Linked DNA regions of Homo sapiens: region 2 is linked to region 1. The links are contacts of gene promoters, found by promoter capture Hi-C in human tissues and cell types (Jung and others, 2019). All regions are on one chromosome and are shown on one strand. The core of a region is centred on a gene start or on the middle of the fragment in contact, and the rest is flanking DNA. Distances in the headings are between cores, read along the strand shown. Region 1 holds the start of PIK3R4 (phosphoinositide-3-kinase regulatory subunit 4). Region 2 has its middle 58 kb from the start of TRC-GCA6-1.

Region 1 (5,342 bases), core at 1,496-3,995:
CAGAAGACCCAGATATATATAGGAAATCTGTTATATGGTAAATTTGACATTTCAACTAGGTGGGGGGAAATATATTACTCAACATTTTTAGATAACTGAGTAACTCTCTAGAAAAAAATAAAGTTGTAGCTATACTTCAGAAATTTGAGAGCACAAAATGAAACCGTAAAAGACCCAGAAAAAATTTTGGGAGAAGTATACAAAATAATATCAGGAGTGAGGAGTGCCTTTTCTGTGTGGGTTTCAAAATGTAGACATCATGACAATGATGGTTGCTTGGCCTAGGCCTTGAGATGGCAGTGAATGGGTTCAAGGCATATTTTGGGGATAGAATCAGCAAGAGCAAGTGATCACTGAATGGGAGGAATGAGTGTGGTGAGGAAGGAGGGGGAGAGTAGGAATATGTTAAGGATGACTTAATGAGTTCCAAATTTATAGTCTTGAGGAATTCAGTGGGTAGTAGTGCTGCATATTGAGATGGAGAAGAAGGGAGGAGGGAATGTTGCAGGGATAATAACGATTTCAGCTTTGGATTAAAACATTTTGTGTTTCAAAGAATACTATCAAAAAAGTGAAAAGACAACAGAGAGAAAATATTTGCAAATAATATCTCCAACAAGGGATTTGTATCTAGAATATATAAAGAATGCTTACAACTCAATAATAAAAAGACAAATAAACCAATTAAAAAATAGTCAAATCATAAACATTTCTTCAAAGAAGATATATGAATAGAAAACAAGCACAATAAGAAAGATGCTTAACGGAATTGGTTATTAGGGAAATACAAATTAAAGCAACAATGAGATACCACTTAACAGCCACCAGGATAATAAAAAAAGAAGATAATAACAGTGTCAGCAAGAATGTGGAGAAATTAGAGCCCTCATATATTGCTAATGGGAATGTAAAATGGTGCCTGCACTTTGGAAAACAGTTTGGCAGTTTCTCAAATGTTAAACATAGAGCTACCATATGAGCCCACAATTTCGTTCCTCAGTATCTATCCAACAGAAATGAAAACATATGGCAACACAAAGACTTATAGACTAATGCTATGAACATAGGAACATTATTCATAATAACGTAAAAGTAAAACAACTCAAATGTCTATTAACTAACAAAAGGGTAAACAAAATTATTTGCAACAACAAATAAATGAAGTACTAATACAAGCTACAATAGGGATAATCCTCAAAAACATTACCCAAAGTGAAAGTCAGTCACAAAGACCACATATTATATATAAAATGTCCAGAAAAGGCAAGTGTATACAAACAGAAAGTAGATTAATGATTGCCTAGGGCTGGAAGGGGGAGGAGAAATGGGGGAGAACAGGGAGTGACTCCGAATGGTTTCAGGGTTTCCTTTTGGGGTAATGAAAATGTTTAAAATCAGGCAGGCTGGGCGCGGTGGCTCATACCTGTAATCCCAGCACTTTGGGAGGTCGAGGCGGCGGATCACTTGAGGTCAGGAGATCCAGACCATCCTGGCCAACATGGTGAAACCCCATCTCTACAAACAATACAAAAACTAGCGGCCGGGCGCGGTGGCTCACGCCTGTAATCCCAGCACTTTGAGAGGCCGGGTGGATCACGAGGTCAGGAGATCGAGACCACGGCGAAACCCCGTCTCTACTAAAAAAAAAATACAAAAAATTAGCCCGGCGCGGTGGCGGGCGCCTATAGTCCTAGCTACTCGGGAGGCTGAGGCAGAAGAATGGCGTGAACCCGGGAGGCGGAGCTTGCAGTGAGCCGAGATCGCGCCACTGCACTCCAGCCTGGGCGACAAGAGCGAGACTCCGTCTCAAAAAAAAAAAAAACAAAAACCTAGCTGGGCGTGGTGGCACGTGCCTGTGGTCCCAGCTACTCTGGAGGCAGAGGCATGAGAATCGCTTGAACCCGGGAGGTGGAGTTTGCAGTAAGCCGAGATGGCACCACTGCATTCCAGCCTGGGTGACAGAGCCAGACTGTCTCCAAAAGAAAAAAAAAAAGGCCGGGCGCGGCGGCTCACGCCTGTAATCCCAACACTTTGGGAGGCTGAGGCAGGCGGATCACGAGGTCAGGAGATCGAGACCAACCTGGCTAACACGGTGAAACCCCGCCTCTACTAAAAATACAAAAAAATTAGCCGGGCGTGGTGGCGGGCGCCTGTAGTCTCAGCTACTCGGGAGGCTGAGGCAGGAGAATCGCTTGAACCCGGGAGGTGGAGGTTGCAGTAAGCCGAGATCGCTCCACTGCACTCCAGCCTGGGCGACAGAACGAGACTCAGCCTCAAAAAAAAAAAAAAAAAAAAAAAAAAAAAAAAAAAAAAAAAAAAAAATTAAAATCAGATTATAGGGATGATTGCACAACTCGATAGATGTATTAAAAACTACTGCTTTGTACATTTTAAGCAGGTGAACTTTATGGTATGTAAGTTATATCTCACCAGAACTCTAAAAATCCAGCTTGGGATATATTAGTTTTCCTAAATATTCTTGAGTTCTCTTAACTCTGTTCTGCTGTCCTGGGAGTGAAGGCGTGTCTGAGCAGATTCTAGGGGATGTCAGAAACCTCAGCGTTCGTGAATGAAAGGTAGAAGAGCAGGAAGGGGAATAGATCTTTGTCAGAGCATCATTTTCTCCCTGTAGACTCGCCCAAAGTAAGACCACGCCTTCCCTAGTTTCCTAGCAACCGGTTTCCTACCCTGGCAATTCCTCAAGGCTCACTCTTTTTCGTCACTTCCGCTCGGCGACAGGAAGTGAGGTCAGACCGGTTGCTTTCCCGGGAGTTCGGCGTTTGCTGGGGCTGCAGCAGCTGAAGTGTAGTGTTTTCTTGGGACTGGCGGTCTGCACTTCTCTCCCGGGTTCCATCTCCCCCCGCCCGGTGGTGAGGCCCTCGAGGAGGGCTCGGACGGGTGTAGCGATCCGCGCTAGAGGAAGACGAGGCCCGGGAACGCATGTCCCCCAGGGCAGGTTAGGGGGCTGGAGGGGTCAAATCCCGGGGTACTTGTGGAGACTCTTTAGCGTGGCTTCTTCTCTCTGCTGAGACCCCGAGAGCTTTCCCAGTTCTCCTCCCAGGACCACCGGGGTTCCTGAAGATCGGGACTTTTCTGCGCCCCTCCACCAACAGCCCATCTCCTGTCTATGAAGAAAGACCCTTCGTAGAAACAACTTCCCCGCTGCTGACGCGTTTTCCCGTCCCGTCCCCGAAGTAGTCTACTATGACCTCGTTGTGAGCCTCTGAACGATTTTGACACTTTCCCGAGGCCTAGGGTAAATGTTTATGTGTGCTCAAGGTCGTGTGTGTATATGTGTGGCATTTATTTCCTGCAAAACCTGAGTTAGCAGAACCCTGGGGTACGTTTAGCTAGTGTATACTTTGGTCTGCTTTTCTTTAACATCTGTGGCAAGGTTTCTTGTTGCAGACCAGCGAAGTTTGCACCTTCTTTTAGCTGGGTGAGAGGGCACACTGGAATTAGGCAGGAAGTGTCCAGGAGTTAACTGAATTTTTAGATCTTAGTTTGACCTTTTCAGTTTTCAGTTTTTCTTTTTTTTTTTTTATTTTTTGAGACGGACGGAGTCTCGCTCTGTCACCCAGGCTGGAGTGCGGTGGCGGGATCTCCACTCACTGCAACCTCTGCGTCCTGGGTTCAAGCAATTCTGCGTCAGCCTCACGAGTAGCTGGGATTACAGGCACCCACTACCACGCCCGGCTAATTTTTGTATTTTTAGTAGAGACGGGATTTTAACCATGTTGGCCAGCCCCGTCTTGAGCTCCTGACCTCGTGATCCTCCCGCCTCGGCCTCCCGAAGTGCTGGGATTACAGGCGTGAGCCACCGCGCCCGGCCAGTTTTAAGCTTTTAATGTGTCTCTTTCTTATTTCCAAGAAACTACAGATTCTTGGACAAGAACTATGTCATATGGTAACTTTGTAATTCTCATAGCCCCAAGCACAGCACGGAACACATAGTAAAGGCTCATTAATATTTTAAATTTAAATATGAGAAAATAACACAAACTAACATTTTTGGCTTAAAGTTGAAGAGGCCTATCTAAATATAGTTCAGCTCCTGGAAATGGCGATGCGCAATAGCAGGGTATTTTTAGGTAAAATAACAAGGTCTTCTTGGAGAAAATAACATGGTCTTTTTAGATAAATGTGTGTGAAATTTAGAGGCTGCCCCAGAAGGCTAGGTACAGTGCTGTTAGTGGAAGAGAAGTATGCTGCATCTGTCTTTTTGGAAGAGACCAAATAATGGAATAATGGTGTTTCACAGCTTCTTTGTTTCTTGTCTTTTTTCTTCATTTGTTTTTATTTTAAACAGGTATTATATCCTAACCTTACTAAAGACCACAGAGGTGCTTGCCATTATGGGAAATCAGCTTGCTGGCATTGCTCCCTCCCAGATCCTTTCTGTAGAGAGTTATTTTTCAGATATTCATGACTTTGAATATGATAAAAGCCTGGGGAGTACTCGGTTTTTTAAAGTTGCTCGAGCCAAGCACCGAGAAGGCCTGGTCGTTGTGAAGGTTTTTGCAATTCAGGATCCCACATTGCCTTTAACCAGCTATAAACAAGAGCTGGAGGAACTGAAAATCAGGCTTAATTCTGCACAGAATTGTCTACCTTTCCAGAAAGCATCAGAAAAAGCATCTGAGAAAGCAGCTATGCTCTTTAGGCAGTATGTGCGAGACAATCTCTATGATCGCATCAGTACCCGTCCATTCTTGAATAACATTGAGAAGCGCTGGATTGCTTTCCAGATCCTGACAGCTGTGGACCAAGCACACAAATCTGGAGTTCGTCATGGGGACATCAAGACTGAGAATGTGATGGTCACCAGTTGGAATTGGGTTCTTCTAACTGATTTTGCCAGTTTTAAGCCCACTTATCTTCCAGAAGACAACCCGGCAGATTTCAATTATTTCTTTGACACATCACGGAGGAGAACTTGCTATATTGCTCCTGAACGTTTTGTTGATGGTGGGATGTTTGCCACTGAGTTAGAATATATGAGAGATCCTTCAACTCCGCTTGTAGACTTAAATAGCAATCAGAGAACAAGAGGAGAGTTGAAGAGAGCAATGGACATCTTTTCAGCAGGTATTTGAGTGGGTCACATTTGCTAAGGGAGCATGTGTTTTTCTTTTAACTGTTAAACAGAAATGTGGCTTTTTTTAGTCACCAGATATTGAAAAGTTAATGTCTTGGTTTGTCCTCAGACGCTATTTCAGTTAGAGGCAGCATTCCTGCATTGGATATGTTTAAATGCCTAGGAAATGCAAACAGCAGTTTATTTACACAAACATATAAACATATTTGCTTGCCTACTTTTATTGTATGTGTCAGGCACTGTC
Region 2 (5,342 bases), core at 1,864-4,363, 1.4 Mb before region 1:
CAGCTGTGCTGGGAGCCTCAACTGGTGGTCCCTGCCTGGTGAGGAGCAGCAGAGGTGGGGTCTGCAGTTGGTCTGCTCCTCAGTACTGTGGCTGTAGCAGCTATCCTAGGGGCTTGCAAAAGAGCCTGTCTTGCCTGTCTTCCCTTGTTGGCAGCACATTGACAGCTGGTGTCAGACTGCTCTGGGATCCAGTGCTTGTGGTGCTCCATGTGGGCTTGAGAGATATCTCTGCATGGACTCCAGATGGTTCTTCTTGTTGGTCTGCAGGCCCGGATGGGTCGGGGGAGTTCTCCTGTGCCCAGGATTGCAAAGGGTTTGTGGGGACATTGTGGATCCCCAGTGGCTGTAATCATTCACTTTGTTCTTCTTTGTTCTCTGTGGGTCCCATTGCTTCTTTAGTGAATCGCAATGTGTTCTCTTAGAATATCCACTTGAAGAGCCAGTGTTTACTCACATTTGTTTCTTCTCTGTGGGAGCAGCTAGCAGGCATCTTCATATATATATATATATATATAATATGATCTCGTTCTGTCACCAGGCTCGAGGGCAAAGGCCTGATCATAGCTCACTTCTATCTCCAACTCTTGGGCTCAATCAATCCTCCCATCTCAGCCTGCTGAGTTGCTGGGAGTACAGGCATGTACCACCATGCCTCAGCCTCCCAGATCATTTTGATTATAGGCATGACCCACTGCACCTGGGTCCTAATGAGTGTGATATAAAGATTAAATGATGTAATGTATGCACAATTTTTGACTTGAAGTAGGCTGTCAATGTTAGTTTTCTTTCTTCTTTCAAAATAATTAACAAAATGAATCTTTAAAACAATAGTCCCAGGAGAATCTGAAGCTTTAAGCTCTTTGTTTTGATTCAGCTCCAGTGTTCCAGAGGCTTTCCTTGTGTACATGAGATAGTTTGGGGGACTTTCTGTTTGGTGTTATGCTGGTGCTCTTTTGTCCTATGCTATTTTCATGGCTGTCAATTGACCAAGGGTCTATAAACACAGTACTCTCACAGTAATCTCACGAAAATCAGGTGCAGAATTGGAGTGGGCTTCTACAAGTTATTGGTATCTGACGCTACTGGTCATTAAAATGATTCTTGTCACTTGAGGAATGATACAGAACAACCACCAACCCCATCTCCTTTCACTCAAAGAGGAGCACAAAAGGTATCACCCATAATTAGTGTGTTTTGTTGTTCATGTTCCCAAGTCAACCCTAGAGATGGAGCCAAGGTTATCACATCCACATGGAACATTCTTTTTCACCTCTAGTCAGGAGATAGCAGGAGGAAGTTTGTGTTTCTCTCTTTTTCTGCAACTATGCTACAATTTGACACTGAAAATACTCAGGCTCGAGGTTTAATTTGAATATCTATGGTATAAAATTACCAGTGTTCACACCCCCTAGCATTTTCCTGACAAATTAATTGCCAATACAATTTTCAGCAGTGGGTATGTGTGGAGCGAGGCAGGGTTGAGAGTTCAGCTTATGGGAGGTAATTATAGGTGCCCTTGGCTGGGAAAGAGCACAGATGATGCTAAAGGAGCCAATGTTTTGGGTAAGCAGCACCTGCTCCTTTGCCAGCTCTGTAGACCCATGGATCTGGGAAACATATATAATTTGGAGGATTTAGGGTCTACCTTTGGTCACATAATTTAATCTCTTAATCATCGTGTGTTCTGTGGTTGCCGTGAGCTCTCTGAAACTGAACTGTGTGTCTCCATTACTTGGTTCTTAGATCTTTTCTCCATTTATTCAATACTCCAAGCCTTCAAAGCATCAGGATAAAGAAGGCAAACAGCAAAACTCTCAAAGGCAGAGAGTAAATAAAGCTATAAAGAGATTCTTCATTTTGGCTAGGTCTAAGGGAAGGGGCACTTTTGTTGATATATCTGAAAGTAAGTGGTCTCCTCTGAAAGAGGTGGAAAAACATTCTGTTGAGATGAAGCACCTGACCTTTTAAGAAATAATCTCTGCTTATTTCTAAGTATTCATTGGAAAACGATTTATCTCAAATATACACCTTTAGACAAGATGCATTAGTTCCTTTTTCAACCTAAGCCTCTCAGGAGTTGTAATCCTCTAGCATCTGAAGATATTTGCTGTTGGGGTTATTTTAATTTTTATTTTATTTAATTGTAAAAACAATAATAAAAACCAAGCAGACAAACAAAAACCTTAAAAAACCCTAAACTGGGGTGAGGGAGGATTGGAGGAGTAGATGGTTGAAGACCAGAACAGATATAAAGCCATAAACATCCTCCTTAAACTTTTTCAAGTTTTAAAAATACTAGCAATTTTATAGATTTGTTTTCATCTCAAAGATATTTTTGAAAATAAAGGGTTATAACATTATTATGTGACAAAGTAAAATAACAGAGAAGTGCACATTTGATTCCATTAAGTCTTGTTCTCAAGTTTTTCCTGTGATGTCAGTTGCTTTTAAAAATATGAAAGATCCAGTGAGAATAAGATAATATTTCTGGCACTCTAGTCCCTGCAATAATGGGATTGGAGAGAAAGGAATGAGGATATTTGCTGGCCAAGGTTAATATACAAGGGTTTCATCCTGTCTTCTTCATGAATTTGAATCTCATCACCCAAATATCTCAGCTACAAGGATTCTGCTATGTTTTCTGGAAAACAAGTCCACTTTCAGAACTCTCACCAAGTTAATCACAGTCAGAAGATGCCAAGGTTGGGCAGGACCATCTACTCCAACTCTTTCATTTAACAGATGAACTAAGGTCCATAGATGGACAAGGGACTTACCAAAGATTGTCCAGCAGGTTAGTTTAGAATAAGGGCTAGAATCTAGGTTTTCTTTAAAGCAGCAATAAGCAAGTGCTATAGGAATAATCAGTTGCTTCACATGGATGTGGGCCCTGAATTCCTAATTTGGAAATCAGTTGTGCTCTACAAAATTCACAGATTCGTGATGCTATTTGATACAAATGTCATCGTGTTGACAGTCAGGTGGACCTTGGAAAGAAGAGAAAAAGAGAATAAACATTTATGGAGCATCTACTATTGCAAGAAACTTCCACTTTACTATTGCATGTGATTTTCACATCTCCCTGATGAAGTGGATATTATTTCTATTTTTAAATGAGAAAATAAAGGCTCAGAGAAGTTGAACAATTTGCCAAAGACCTTGTAGATGGTAATGTAGAATTTGAACCCAGAAATATGATTCAAAGCCCATCTAAAGTCTTTCCATTCACTCACCACTTTTTGCTTCACCCCATTACATCATTATTTTTGCTACTCTTTCCAATACTAGGCAAACCACAAAGCAGGATCTAGATCATTAGCCTTATCATTGAATGCAGGCATTTATGGTGCATTTATCAAGTACTTAGTTTTGTAGTGGGTGTGTGGAAATGCCAAAGGGTAATGAGACCTTTGTGTAACTGAGAAGGGCTTTCTAGGTGTAAAGGCATCAGATAAGTGTGGCCTTCTATTTCAACTCGCAGGAAATTCATTTTCCCATGGTGTGCAAGGCCCTATGTCCTTGCTACTCAAAGTGAGCTCTATGAACTAGCAGTGTCAGCATCACCTGGTAGCTTTTTAGAAATGTAGAATCTCAGCATCCCACCCCCATTAGATTCTGCATTTTAACAAGATTTCCAGGTGATTTTTATTCACAATCAGGTTTGAGATGCACAGCCCACCTCCTCTCTGACCTTATTGCCCAGGTATAGTAGCCTTCTTTTTGCCCCTAAACATGCTTACCTGGCTCCTGCCTTATGGCCTTGGCATTTGCTGTTCCATTTGGCTGACCGCTTTATCTTCTAATTTTTTTATGACTCTATTTTGTTCTTCAGCTTTCTGCTCAAGCAATATTGTCTCAGAATGTCTGAGTGCTGACTTCCAGGGAACTGCGTTATCTTGTTATATTTTCTCATAGTATTTATTCTCTGAAATTATACCATTTATTTATTCGTTTACATGTTTATTATCTCTTTCCTCACTAGACTGTTAAACTCCATTAATGCAGGAATGATTTGCCTGTCTATTCATTGTTTTATTCCCAGCACCTGGAACACTGCCTGGCCCAAGTTAGGCATTCAATACGTATTTTATGAATCAATAAATGAATGAACAATGGACAATATTTCACTGCTATTGAAATTTCGACATGTTGATACTAAAAGCTAAGATTATTTGTTTTATCTAACCAACCATGAATCAATGTGACAACAACAGTTTGGTGTATTTTCTGGTTTAAGTTCTTTGATGCTGCAATTCATGAATCAAGGAAAGCTGCAGGAGAAAGAAAATTCTCTTTTTAAACTTTTGTCAATTTCATAAAAATATTGATTTTGTTAGGGTGGCATTTGGGGATTTCAGACATATCTGTATAGGGAAGTTTTTCTCTTAATATCTTTTCAGCAATTTCCCTTGAAAAATGCAGATGTATGGATTTGGCACAGGCAAAAGTACTATGGAAACCTTCCCTTTTGATTCACAGGCACCTACAATGAAGTGGTTTGTTTCTTGGCTAAAAACACCAGTTTAGAGAGAGTTCATGCATACTTCACGAGCTGACTCTGCAATAATACACTGCAGATCTTGCTGGAAGGAACAGCAAAGGTAACTCTCTGAATTCTGATGAGACATCCTGGGAAGAACTCTTACACCTACTATTTATGAGAGCGTTATAAAAAAGAAAATGAGAAAGAAAAATGATTTCACACTTAATATATGTCAGGTGACTTAGAAAACAAGATCTCATTTTAATTATTGTGACAACTTTGTGAGATAATATGACCCCATTTTACAGAGCAACAAATGAAGATTCAGAAATTGAGACTTGTTCAAAGGCATCTTTCTAGTAAGTGGTAGAACTGAAATTCAAGTTCATGTTCTTTCCATCATGTTGCTGTCCCATTCTCAGTGAAACTCCATCCTCCACCAACTTCCCACTATATTTTGCAGTTGCCTTTATATGGCAACTTTTTTTGTGTGTGTGTGTGAGCCAAATTTCCTTCTGGTTTCAGAAGAGCACCCTAGAGACTAATAGCCTCATAAAGAATTTATGAGAAAAACAGAAGTGATGGTGCAAAATCTTCAGTACTGCATGGACAGGAGATGCTTAGATCTGAGGTGAGGAAATCCAGAGATGAATGTTTTGTTTACCTCATGGGATTGTGGCATTGTTAGCCACTCAATCCAACCAGATTATAATGTATTAAGAATTTGAAACATCAGCCATTGTGGTTTCACATACACAGATGTATATTATTTTGTTAGCCAGGTAATGACAGTCATTGTCAAGTGGAAGATCTAATCAGACTGAATATTCATTCATGCCTTGCTTTGTCAATAGGGAAA

What was found. The method cuts DNA at HindIII sites, captures the fragments that hold promoters and counts their contacts. A contact is called where the count stands out against the background at its distance.
Region 2: a contact is called between a fragment that was not itself captured here and the fragment with the promoter of PIK3R4 in region 1, in 1 of the 25 tissues and cell types used here (dorsolateral prefrontal cortex).

Annotation. Positions count from the first base shown.
Region 1 is chr3:130,744,232-130,749,573 of GRCh38, reverse strand. It overlaps PIK3R4 (phosphoinositide-3-kinase regulatory subunit 4), which reads left to right and starts at 2,745. Exons shown (of 20, transcript NM_014602.3): 1 at 2,745-3,256; 2 at 4,310-5,088. The coding sequence starts at 4,356. RefSeq lists a silencer at 1,721-1,770 and an enhancer at 3,005-3,064. The HindIII fragment of the contact is 7,513 bases long and covers 1-4,745 here.
Region 2 is chr3:132,168,236-132,173,577 of GRCh38, reverse strand. No RefSeq gene overlaps it. Among named protein-coding and RNA genes, the nearest start is that of TRC-GCA6-1, 58 kb to the left of the region's middle. The HindIII fragment of the contact is 7,011 bases long and covers 1-5,342 here.